Regions from separate parts of the Homo sapiens genome. Here all the other regions are linked to region 1. Evidence: promoter capture Hi-C in human tissues and cell types (Jung and others, 2019). All regions are on one chromosome and are shown on one strand. The core of a region is centred on a gene start or on the middle of the fragment in contact, and the rest is flanking DNA. Distances in the headings are between cores, read along the strand shown.

Region 1 (3,559 bases), core at 579-3,078:
TTTTTTTTAGACACGAGTTCTTATTGGTTGCCCAGATGGTCACAAACTCCTATAAAGCATGATATTAAAAAAATAAATAAATAAAATCTAGCTCTCATAATTGTCAAGTAAAATTCTATAGTTTTGAGCAAATATTTTCAAATCATCAACAGATATTTCTTGAGTACCTACCATTTGTATAGCTTTGTGGAGAAATATAAAACATGAACCTCACATTAAAACTTACCATTCAGTTAAGGAGCTTTCTCTCCTAAATAATTCCCAGCAAAACAAATGATTACGTAGAAAAGGTCTTTTAGTGTTATTTTTAGATCTGCCCACTTTCACAATGCTGTTTCCTTCCCCCCATTTCATCTGAATTCTAACAGGAAATGATTTATCAGCTGGCATTAAACTATTGGTCCACGATCTTTTATCCCAATCCTTTGAGGCCAGATGATTTGTGGAAATTCTCTTTTGGGTGCGGTGGTAGGGGTGGAATTTTCAAGAGTAGTGCCATGTCTATACCATATATTACATGATACCCACAGTAAGGTGTGGAGCTGCTCTGAACAATTAAACACATTAACATGTCTGCAATAAAAACATGTAAATATTTGGAATAAAGACTACAAATGGCCTCAGGCCAAGTTTTACCACCAAATGAGTTGGAGGAAAAGTTGATTTCCAAAAGTTTTTGGATTTCAGGATTGAGAATAAGGAACAGAGGAGCTGAACTGACTTTATCCAAAGACTTGGGACAATAATGACAATAGCATCTAAGAGGCTGAGTGTCCAGAGCTATCTCTGAAAAGATGCATTTAAGGTGGAACTATGAGAAAAGAACAGCTCTTGTGTTTGTACAGGTTCTGCCTATAGACATGAGTTTGACTCGTAAGGAAATGAGCTCTGGCCAAGAATGCTACGGGAAAATGGTTATAGAGACTACCATGCCATTAGGAGGTGTTACTGTTTTGATGAAAAGAATACTGTCAGAGGCAGAGAATCTAATCTTTTCCAGCCCTAAGTGTGTGTTCATTAATTTATTCAACTAATAATCTTCCAGAGCTTACCATGTGGCAGGCTCCATTCTAGGAAATGGAGAAACAGGTGCACAAGACACAGTCCTCACACCCTGGAGTAAACAGCTACTCTTCATTGAACGCTCACAATGTGCTCACACCTGGGCCTTCACATGCCTCATCTCTCTCCTTTAATTAGGATTCAAAGCCATGATTTGAGGTCCTGCTTTGCCATTTCCTAACTAAGACTTAACAACTTCTCTAAGTCTCAGTTCCCTCATCCGCAACACAAAGAATAATCGCCAGACAGGGCCGTGGGGGAGGAAGAAACGAGATGCTTTGGAAAGAATTTTGAAAATGGCGGGTGGAGGCTGAGCAAGAATCAACTTTCTGTGGGCAGGGCCTTTCCTCGGCATCCTCGTCTTCATTCATACAACCCCCACTTCAGATGACGACTGTGTACCAGATGAGCCAGGTGCTGGGCGTTCGGCCACACAGAGAATCAGACCAGCAATTACCCTAGGAGAACCGGCAGTGGAGGGGAAGGCTGGACCTCAGGAAAGCCTCTAGAAGGAGAGAGGGACGTGATGGCGTCACGTCACGCCACAGGGATTTCACCTCCTGCGGATGGTAATGGCCTCGCCGCCCTCCCGCCCCCACCTGGACTCCGACGGTGCCGGCAAGAAACGGGAGGAGGGAAGGCAACCGATGTTTCCAGACCCGCCTTGAGCCCCACCACCACTCCCAAGCAGAGGCTGTTACCTGAGAGGAAAGTCGGCCGCTGCCCAACGACCAAACTTCCTCTCCCCAGGATATTCCACCTACTCCAGCCAGGCTCAAGGGCCCAGGCCGGTCCCCACTTCCGCTTCCTCACTTTCTGGCCTGGTGCAGTTCCTGTCAGGGCGTCAAGCAAGATGGTTGCAGATACCTGAGCTGGAGGGTACCAAGGGGAATGAAGGTAAGTGTCTTCGTTTCACAGGCTGCCGGGCTGTGACACTGCCCTAATCCTCCTTTCAAAGAATAAATTTTTTTTTTTTTTTGAGATCTGGGAAATAGTTTAATCAGACACTAGCATTTATTCTTAGCTGCTTTCTTAATTAAATAAAAATGAGTATAAATTAATTTACTAAATGTTCACAACGTAAAAACGGACATTAAAAAAAGAAAAAAAATGCCAAGGTAAGCTGATAATGTTTTTAAAAAGTAGACAATAAAATAATGTATGTAACTTAAAATTTGCCATGATAATTTATTCTTAAAATGGAAAATCAGTAAAATACTCAGACTTCTAGCATAATATCTCTTTTTTTTTATTTATTATTATTTAAGTTTTAAGGACATGGATGAAATTGGAAATCATCATTCTCAGTAAACTATCGCAAGAACAAAAAACCAAACACCGCATATTCTCACTCATAGGTGGGAATTGAACAATGAGAACACATGGACACAGGAAGGGGAACATCACACTCTGGGGACTGTTGTGGGGTGGGGGGAGGGGGGAGGGATAGCATTGGGAGATATACCTAATGCTAGATGACGAGTTAGTGGGTGCAGCGCACCAGCATGGCACATGAATACATTTTTAAAAGTGTGTTACTACTGTCATTTCAACTGACTAGAAATACCACCAGCACGTGATTGCCACCTCAAAGGACTGAGAATGTAATAGTAGTCTATGAAGAGCAGTGTGTGTGATGGACAATGATGGGGTAGCTCCAGTGACTGATGGCTTCAGGTGCCACTGACGGGTAATTGTTGATGTATTCAACTGATTTTCCGTGAGCACCCACTTTGTGCCAGACAGTAAGGACTCGGAGATAAAAAGCAGCCCTCTGCTGGATACGTTTACAGGCTAGTGGAGGTGACAGGCACCGTCAGAGAAGATTGTAACAAGATATGTATGGCATAGTAAGAGAGAAGAGATCATCTAATTCTGCCACTGAGTATTTAAGGGCAGGTTTCACAGAAGAGTTTACATCTGAATTGAATCTTAAAGGATGACAGGGAGTTCACTGGATAGACAAAGTAGAGGAGGACGTAAGAGGCAAAGGACACATCATGTGTAAAGGCATGAAAGCTGAGCCAGCCTATTATCTTGGAAAAACTACATGTACTGTAGTTACTACAACTGTCACAAAGGCTATTAGTGGAGCAGCAGAGGAAGGTTAAATAACAGAGGGAAGTTGGATCATGAAGAACCTTATCCATACTACAAGGTGATTTTATCCAGTAGGCATTGAAAAATGTAATCGAACCTGTGTTTTAATGGAATATTGACTAGGATGAGGGGAAAAGACAGAGGATAACAAAACACTTAGTAGACAAAAGCAACATTTGTTTCTATCTCCTACTACTTCAGTCATAATTATAATAATAATAGCCCACATTATTGATACTGACATGTAGATAGGTGAATCCAATATAAAATGATAGGAGGTATGAAAGAAGTTGGTGAGTTTGGAATATTATTTGACTGGCTATAATATAGAGTAATGGGGTGGGAGCCAGAGGGAAATCGAAAAGGTGACCTGGAAAACATTGTTCAGGGCCTTGAA
Region 2 (3,559 bases), core at 476-2,975, 420 kb after region 1:
AAATAGGTGTCCGGCTGTTCCTGCTGCAGCGCCCTGGCAGGCCCCAGCCCCAGCCAGGTCATTCAGTCTGAAGCCTTTCAGGTTTCCTTTATAAACCACTCTTTAATAAGCCCATCCAGGAGGCTGGTGAAATGCCCACGTGGAGCTCTCTGCCTGCCATCCCTAAGCATTATCATTTGGTTTCATGGCATGAAGTCAAAAATGATTTATTGAAATTGTAAAATCTGTTTGTGGACTGAATAATCTAAGCCCACTGATATCTACAGCTTTGGGCACTTTCAATGCTTCCTTAGGCTGATGATTCACCAGGTCCCCTTGTCCCCAAAGACATGATAGGTGCATGATAATAAATCTGAAATGGCATGTGAGAGGATATCTCAAAGGCAAAATCTCTACTTGCCTTTTTAGAGCTTATAGATCATGTTTTCCCATTTCCTTAGCAATCCCCAAAGTAATTGAGCTTGTCATTTTCCACTGCTTCACCATAATGTGCCTCTGAGCCAGATTTGTCAGTGGCTCCAGAAAAGTAAATGCCCTCTTAGCCTGAGTATGGAGGTAGTTTTGATAATATTCCCATTAGGCTGCATCACCCTGGAAATAATTTTATCCCTTCACAAGCAGCATCCTAAGAATAGATCAAGTGACCCAATATAGTATGTAAAATTCATTTGAGAAATAAGTAGACTGGTATCTCACTGATACCTAAAATTTTATTCAAAGTGCATGTTCTGTTAGTTCAAGGTAATTTTAAGCTTTTAATTATTTTCCTGCCCCATAGCATATAAAATGCATGATGGGGGCAGCGACAAAACCACTGAAGTGCTCTCAGGAAACCAGTTACAAAGGATTTGCTGTTCTTCATGTGTGAGGCCACGGATCCCAGAGCTGCAGAGTTCATTGCTGGTCTTGTGCTGGCAAAGACCCTAGGCGGGAATTCCATCTCATTGCGTTGGAATTTAAAGCAATTGCAGATGCTTTTCCCTCCAATGGACTCTCTGTTTACACTGCTGCTTCCAGCTAATCTAAGCCTGATCAGCCAGCCCTTAAGAACCTGGGTGGATAGCATCAGTAGAAATTTAGTTAAAACCTTCTTATGTGCTACAAATGGTTAGAATTTTCCCCATTTCTCACTCTTGAGTCGTTAGCATAGAAACTAGGGATAATGGTCAGATTCCTAGTATGTGAACGTTTCATTAATTTCATAAGACCATGGAATTTTAAAACTGAAAGGAACATTCAAGCATGAGAACAATCCTGTGTGCCTAAGTGAGGAACTGAGAGGCTCAGAGAGGCGAAATGACTTGTTGTTGGTCATGCTGCTTAGTAATTCTGTGCTGAGTCTCGAATGCAACCTCTTATTCCAGTGCTGTTTGTATATACTCCATCAGCTTCAGAAGACTGTTTGCATTCCAGCGAATAAAAAATAGACAAGTTCTATTCATAGGAGTTATTCTGGATGATTTAATTTCCTCTCTTTTCTCAGGCGCTATAGTGGCCCCTGGTAAAACCCGGGGAGGGTCACCGTACAACCAGTTTGATATCATCCCTGGTGACACACTGGGTGGCCATACGGGTCCTGCTGGTGATAGCTGGTTACCTGCCAAATCTCCACCAACAAATAAAATCGGAAGTAAATCCAGCAATGCCAGTTGGCCTCCAGGTATTGTCTAGGAAATGCTTTTCCCAGGATAGCATTTGTTTTGTAATTGTCAGTTTCAGGTTCAGAATACATTGCTTTTGTGATTCATGTTACTAAGGTACTTGCTTTTATTTTTTTCATTCAATAATTGTCTGTTAGAAGCAAGGCATGTGCTGTGGGAAGATAGAAAATTTTCATTAGATGGGGAATCTGGGGATAAGTGACATTGTAGGTGGGACTTTGCATTCGTCCCATGCATAGGATGCCTTGTAACATGGGTTCTTTTGAAGTGTCTGTTGAATTGATTTGTTAGTTCTTAGGCAAGTGTGTATTACCAGTTAGCTTCTAGGTATGCAGTAGCGATTGCAATGAGATTATTTGTTAATTCTTTTCTTTCTGTCCCTCCCTTTTGTTGGATATAGTAATCTATTCTCATGATAGAAAAATGAGAACATTTAATAAAGCAAAAATTAAAATCAGTAATTCCATAAATATATATCCTCCTAGACCTCTTTCTGTGCATGCGTATTTGTGACATGAATATGTATAGTTTCGTTTTATTAAGGTAGAATTTTTTTTTTTTTTTGAAAGGGAGTTTTGCTCTTATTACCCAGGCTGGAGTGCAGTGGTGCGATCTTGGTTCACTGCAAGCTCTGCCTCCCAGGTTCAAGCGATTCTCCTGCCTCAGCCTCCCAAGTACCTGGGATTACAGGCGCCTGCTACCACGCCTGGCTAATTTTTTGTATGTTTAGTAGAGACAGGGTTTCGCCATGTTGGACAGGCTGTTCTCAAACTCCTGACCTCAGGTGATCTGCCCGCCTCGGCCTCCCAAAGTGCCGGGATTACAGGCGTGAGCCACCACGCCCGGCCAAAGTAGAACTGTATAATGCAGATCGTTCATATATAATACACATTGCTCTTTCTCATCACGATTTGGAAAATAAAAGTTTATTGTGTCACATAGCCTTAAAATTTTAAAATGATTTAAATTGACCAATAAAAAAATTCCGAGCCCTTATGTATATTCTAGGCTTTCTTTTGCTAAGCTAAATTATCCCTGCTGGTTATCCCTGGACATTCTGTGTAGCAGTATCATTTGTATTACATTTTTTGCATTTTGGCCAACATCTCGTAAGGAAAATGAGAAAGAGCACTGATCTCTAGCCCATATTTTCACCGGTTCTTGGCCTAGATGCTGGGATGATTCTTGTGAACACCAGAGTCCTTACTCCTGCTTTCCCTGCCTTCAGCCCTGAAGTCTCCTGGGAGCAGGAGGATCAGGTTACTGGGGACAGGCTCTGATGAGCTGTGGCTTCCAGTTGACTGCCACAGACAGTGTGATAAAACAAAGGTGCTGTTGGCAAGAGTATGTTCATGGTGATTTTTTTTTCCTTAATTTTGTGATGAAAATCTAAGAGACAATAAATTCAGTATTTATACTTTTCACAGACCCATTTCTTATGTCAAAAAAAGTACTATATCATTTTTTTTTAACGACCTTCCTTCTCTAATATTTGTTTTCCTTGTCTCAGAATTCCAACCAGGAGTGCCATGGAAAGGTATCCAAAACATTGACCCTGAATCTGACCCCTATGTCACCCCAGGAAGTGTGCTGGGGGGTACAGCCACATCTCCCATTGTAGATACTGACCACCAACTGCTGCGGGATAACACCACAGGTACTTGAGCAAAGCATCTCTTATATGTTCAACACCCAGCATTTTCATAGTTGTCAGTTTGTGACTTCATTTGTACTTGCTGGTACCTAAAAGTTTAACCAAAAAATGTAAAAAGATTGCTTTTCACTTTTATTTGTTAGACATATTTTGTCCTCCATTCTATTGAAGTTTAAACAAAATACTCTCAAGGTTTCACTGGTTATACTGACATTTATCTTCAGTATTTTCTTCTTGTTCTTTG
Region 3 (3,559 bases), core at 498-2,997, 370 kb after region 1:
TACAGGCGTGAGCCATCGCGCCTGGCCGACTAATTTTATTTTCTTAAGTCACACATTTATTCTGCTCATCAGATTTTGGATCCTCTGACCTCCACTCCCCCTCCCCTTACTGGGAGGCCTGGTGCTGCCTTGTGATTAGCTGAGGTTAGACATGGGGTTACCTGGAAATTGCTGCAGGCACCTGCTCTTTTCTCCTGTCACCCACAGTATGTTAATGTCCAGTAGTGGCATAGATTGGGCCGCCTGATTTCTGATGATGTATCTCTCTCATAAAGGAGCCAGTTCAGCAAGCAACATGCTGGCCCCGCATCATTTTAGCAGTCAAAGCAGTACTACCCCCAGAGTTGGCCCTGACGTTACCCTGGGAGGCAGGGATTTGGGCCTCAGAATCATCCGAACTGTCAGGCTTGATGATTATTTCTGTACGACTTCCAGCCTCTATTTGCCAGGTAGATTTTTATGGAGAGGGTAGTGATCTTCTGGCAGCATGCAGCGAGGGAGGTACAGATCTAAGAGAGCCTTCTCTGTATGTTCGACGGGAAGAGCCAGAGGGTCCGGCAGAGTGCGGTTTCACGGTTGCCCCGACATTCCCACGCTGTGTGCGGGCCATTTTTAAAATTAAGTTTAAAAAAATCAAATGATTTAAAGTAAACAGAAAAAGTATTTACATTTTGAAATTTCTATTTTAAAGAATTGGGAAGAAACACTTTTTTTTTTTTTTAAAGAAAAGCAAAAAGATTTGTAACATTTCTAGTATTTACACAGAGAGCGGTGCAAGTCTTTGAGTCCAGGTAGCTGTAGAAACCAGAACCAAGCTGAGTTTGTGATTTTCTAGGCCTGGAGTTTCTTGTAAGAGTCCACTCTGTGCCATGCCCTAAGGAAGAAAGAAAAGATGAAAGATGGGTCCTTGCCCTCAGGAAGTCATGGCCTGGTGAGGGAGAAGGACTTGTAAATGGAGAATTTCTGTGATAGAGAGAGATGGGACTTGTAGATGGAGAATTTCGGTGGTAGAGATAGATGGATTTTTGAATGGAGAATTTTCATGGTAGAGAGAGATGGATGATGTGTTCCAGGAGCACTTAGGAAGAATGTTTAGCCCATCTAGGCCAGGGGCTTCAATAAAGTTTACTCAGGGGTAGATCTTTTAAGAATGTGGATGAAGGGAAGGGACCCTTGGACTGAGGCTTGAAACCTTTCCCAAGGACTTTGCCATGGACATTTAACTCTTCTAGGCAGCACTTCAGGGAATTAATTCCACTGTTGATTTAGGGGAGTGAATGTTGATTGCTTCCCTCTCCGCCTTAATTAATGGAATGTATTCCATGACCTTGCTGTGTTTAAATTCTTGTCACTGTCAGCCGCCACCTTCATCCTACCTTCAGCAAACTGGAGAGATTGTGGAGAATTTGGAAAAACTGTTTCCCTTGAGAGTAGAGTAAAAGGAGAAGTTACTTTGTTAGAATTGGTACCATGTAAGCTTTCTTACAAATAATCTTAGCCAGGGTCTGGGTGTGGTGGCTCACACCTGTAATCCCAGCACTTTGGGAGGCCGAGGTGGGTAAATAGCTTGAGTTCAGGAGTTCGAGACCAGTCTAGGTAGGCAACATGGCAAAACCCTGTCTCTAGAGGAGGAAAAAAAAATTAGTTGGGCATAGTGGTGTATGCATTGTAGTCCCAGCTACTCAAGAGGCTGAGGTGGGAGGATCACTTGAGCCCTGGAGGTAGAAGTTGCAGCAAGCCAAGATCACTGCACTCCAGCCCGAGTTATACAGCAAGACCTCATCTCAAAAAAATAAAAAATAGGCTGGGTGCAGTGGCTCATGCCTGTAATCTCAACACTTTGGGAGGCCAAGGCAGGCGGATCATGAGGTCAGGAGTTCAAGACCAGCCTGGTCAACATAGTGAAAACCTGTCTGTACTAAAAATACAAAAAATTAGCTGGTTTTGGTGGTGGGCGCCTGTAATCCGAGCTACTTGGGAGGCTGAGGCAGGAGAATTGCTTGAACCTGGGAGGCGGAGGTTGCAGTGAGCGGAGATTGCACCACTGCACTCCAGCCTGGGCGACACTCACACTGGGTGACAGTGTGAGACTCCGTCTCAAAAATAAATAAATAAATAAATAAATAATAATCTTGGCCAGGCACAGTGGCTCACTCTTGTAATTCTAGCACTTTGGAAAGCCAAGGTGGGAGAGTCCCTTGAGCCCGAGTTCAAGACCAGCATGGGCAACATGGCAAGACCCCATCTCTAAATAAAATAATAAAATTATTTTTAAAATTTTTAGAAAAAATGTATTTGATGTATTTCAAAGACTGTTTCCCAACCCCTCTCTTTTAGTGCCCGAAGTGACGAAACCAAGTTTAAGCCAACCAACGGCCGCCAGCCCAATTGGCAGCTCTCCATCGCCACCAGTCAATGGTGGCAACAATGCCAAAAGGGTGGCAGTGCCGAACGGACAACCGCCAAGCGCCGCCCGCTACATGCCTCGGGAGGTGCCGCCGCGATTCCGTTGCCAGCAGGACCACAAAGTGTTACTAAAACGTGGGCAGCCCCCTCCACCGTCCTGCATGCTCCTTGGGGGTGGGGCAGGGCCTCCTCCCTGCACAGCACCTGGAGCAAACCCAAACAACGCACAAGTGACAGGAGCGCTGCTGCAGAGTGAGAGTGGGACTGCGCCAGGTAAGGCACCCTGTGAATCGAATGCATGGCAGCTTGACAGAGAGAGAGCACTTTGTTTGCATTGCTTGATGTAAAGTCCAGGAAAGCCATTCATTATATAAACCACTGGGATTAGTCAAAAGATGAGAGAGGATCCTAGTATGCGATGTGTATTGGTGATTCTTGGAACTGAGGTTTAGTGTTCCGTAAGTGTGTGCTCTTGGCATAAGGGCTAACTTAACTGCTGTTGCTTATTATTTTGGGGGCCTTTTTTCCTTCTCAGACTAGAGTGTTACAAATTTGAGCCTCCATAGTTCCACCGTCATATGTGTTCAGGGCATAATTGGACATGGGGCTTGTGCGAAGGCGAATCTTTAGATGCCTGTGTTATGTTTCCAGAATGCTAGGAGGATAGAGAAAATGATTTGCTACATTGCAATATAGAATCTTCGGAGGATTCTAAAATAATACTATAGTTTTTAAATTAGATTTTTAAACTCAGTATTTCTTTTTGTGGGCCCTGGATTTTGAGCTTTGTTAAAAACTGTATGTAGAAATAAGGGATATTTAGCTGAAAGGTTCTACTAGAAGTTTTGAGAGTTTTTGGCCGGGCACGGTGGCTCACGCCTGTAATCCCAGCACTTTGGGAGGCCGAGGCGGGTGGATCACCAGGTCAGGAGATCGAGACCACCCTGGCTAACATGGTGAAACCCTGTCTCTACTAAAAATATAAAAAAATTAGCCAGGCATGGTGGCGGGCTCCTGTAGTCCCAGCTACTCGGGAGGCTGAGGCAGGAGAATGGCGTCAACCCAGGAGGCGGAGCTTGCAGTGAGCCGAGGTCGCGCCATTGCACTCCAGCCTGGGTGACAGAGCCAGACTCCGTCTTAAAAAAAAAAAAAA

The links. The method cuts DNA at HindIII sites, captures the fragments that hold promoters and counts their contacts. A contact is called where the count stands out against the background at its distance.
Region 2: a fragment that was not itself captured here is called in contact with the fragment with the promoter of ENTHD1 in region 1 in 1 of the 25 tissues and cell types used here (stomach).
Region 3: a contact is called between a fragment that was not itself captured here and the fragment with the promoter of ENTHD1 in region 1, in 2 of the 25 tissues and cell types used here (mesenchymal stem cells and mesendoderm cells).

What each region holds. Positions count from the first base shown.
Region 1 is chr22:39,891,932-39,895,490 of GRCh38, forward strand. ENTHD1 (ENTH domain containing 1) reads right to left here and starts at 1,829. Exons shown (of 7, transcript NM_152512.4): 1 at 1,764-1,829. It also overlaps a transcript of GRAP2 not described here. The HindIII fragment of the contact is 22,421 bases long and covers 1-3,559 here.
Region 2 is chr22:40,309,334-40,312,892 of GRCh38, forward strand. It overlaps TNRC6B (trinucleotide repeat containing adaptor 6B), which reads left to right. Exons shown (of 23, transcript NM_001162501.2): 17 at 1,484-1,660; 18 at 3,172-3,318. Among named protein-coding and RNA genes, the nearest start is that of ADSL, 35 kb to the right of the region's middle. The HindIII fragment of the contact is 7,129 bases long and covers 1-3,559 here.
Region 3 is chr22:40,259,495-40,263,053 of GRCh38, forward strand. TNRC6B (trinucleotide repeat containing adaptor 6B) reads left to right here. Exons shown (of 23, transcript NM_001162501.2): 4 at 2,338-2,679. It overlaps LOC124905121 (a long non-coding RNA gene), which reads right to left. Exons shown (of 2, transcript XR_007068107.1): 2 at 1-874. Among named protein-coding and RNA genes, the nearest start is that of TNRC6B, 83 kb to the left of the region's middle. The HindIII fragment of the contact is 8,779 bases long and covers 1-3,559 here.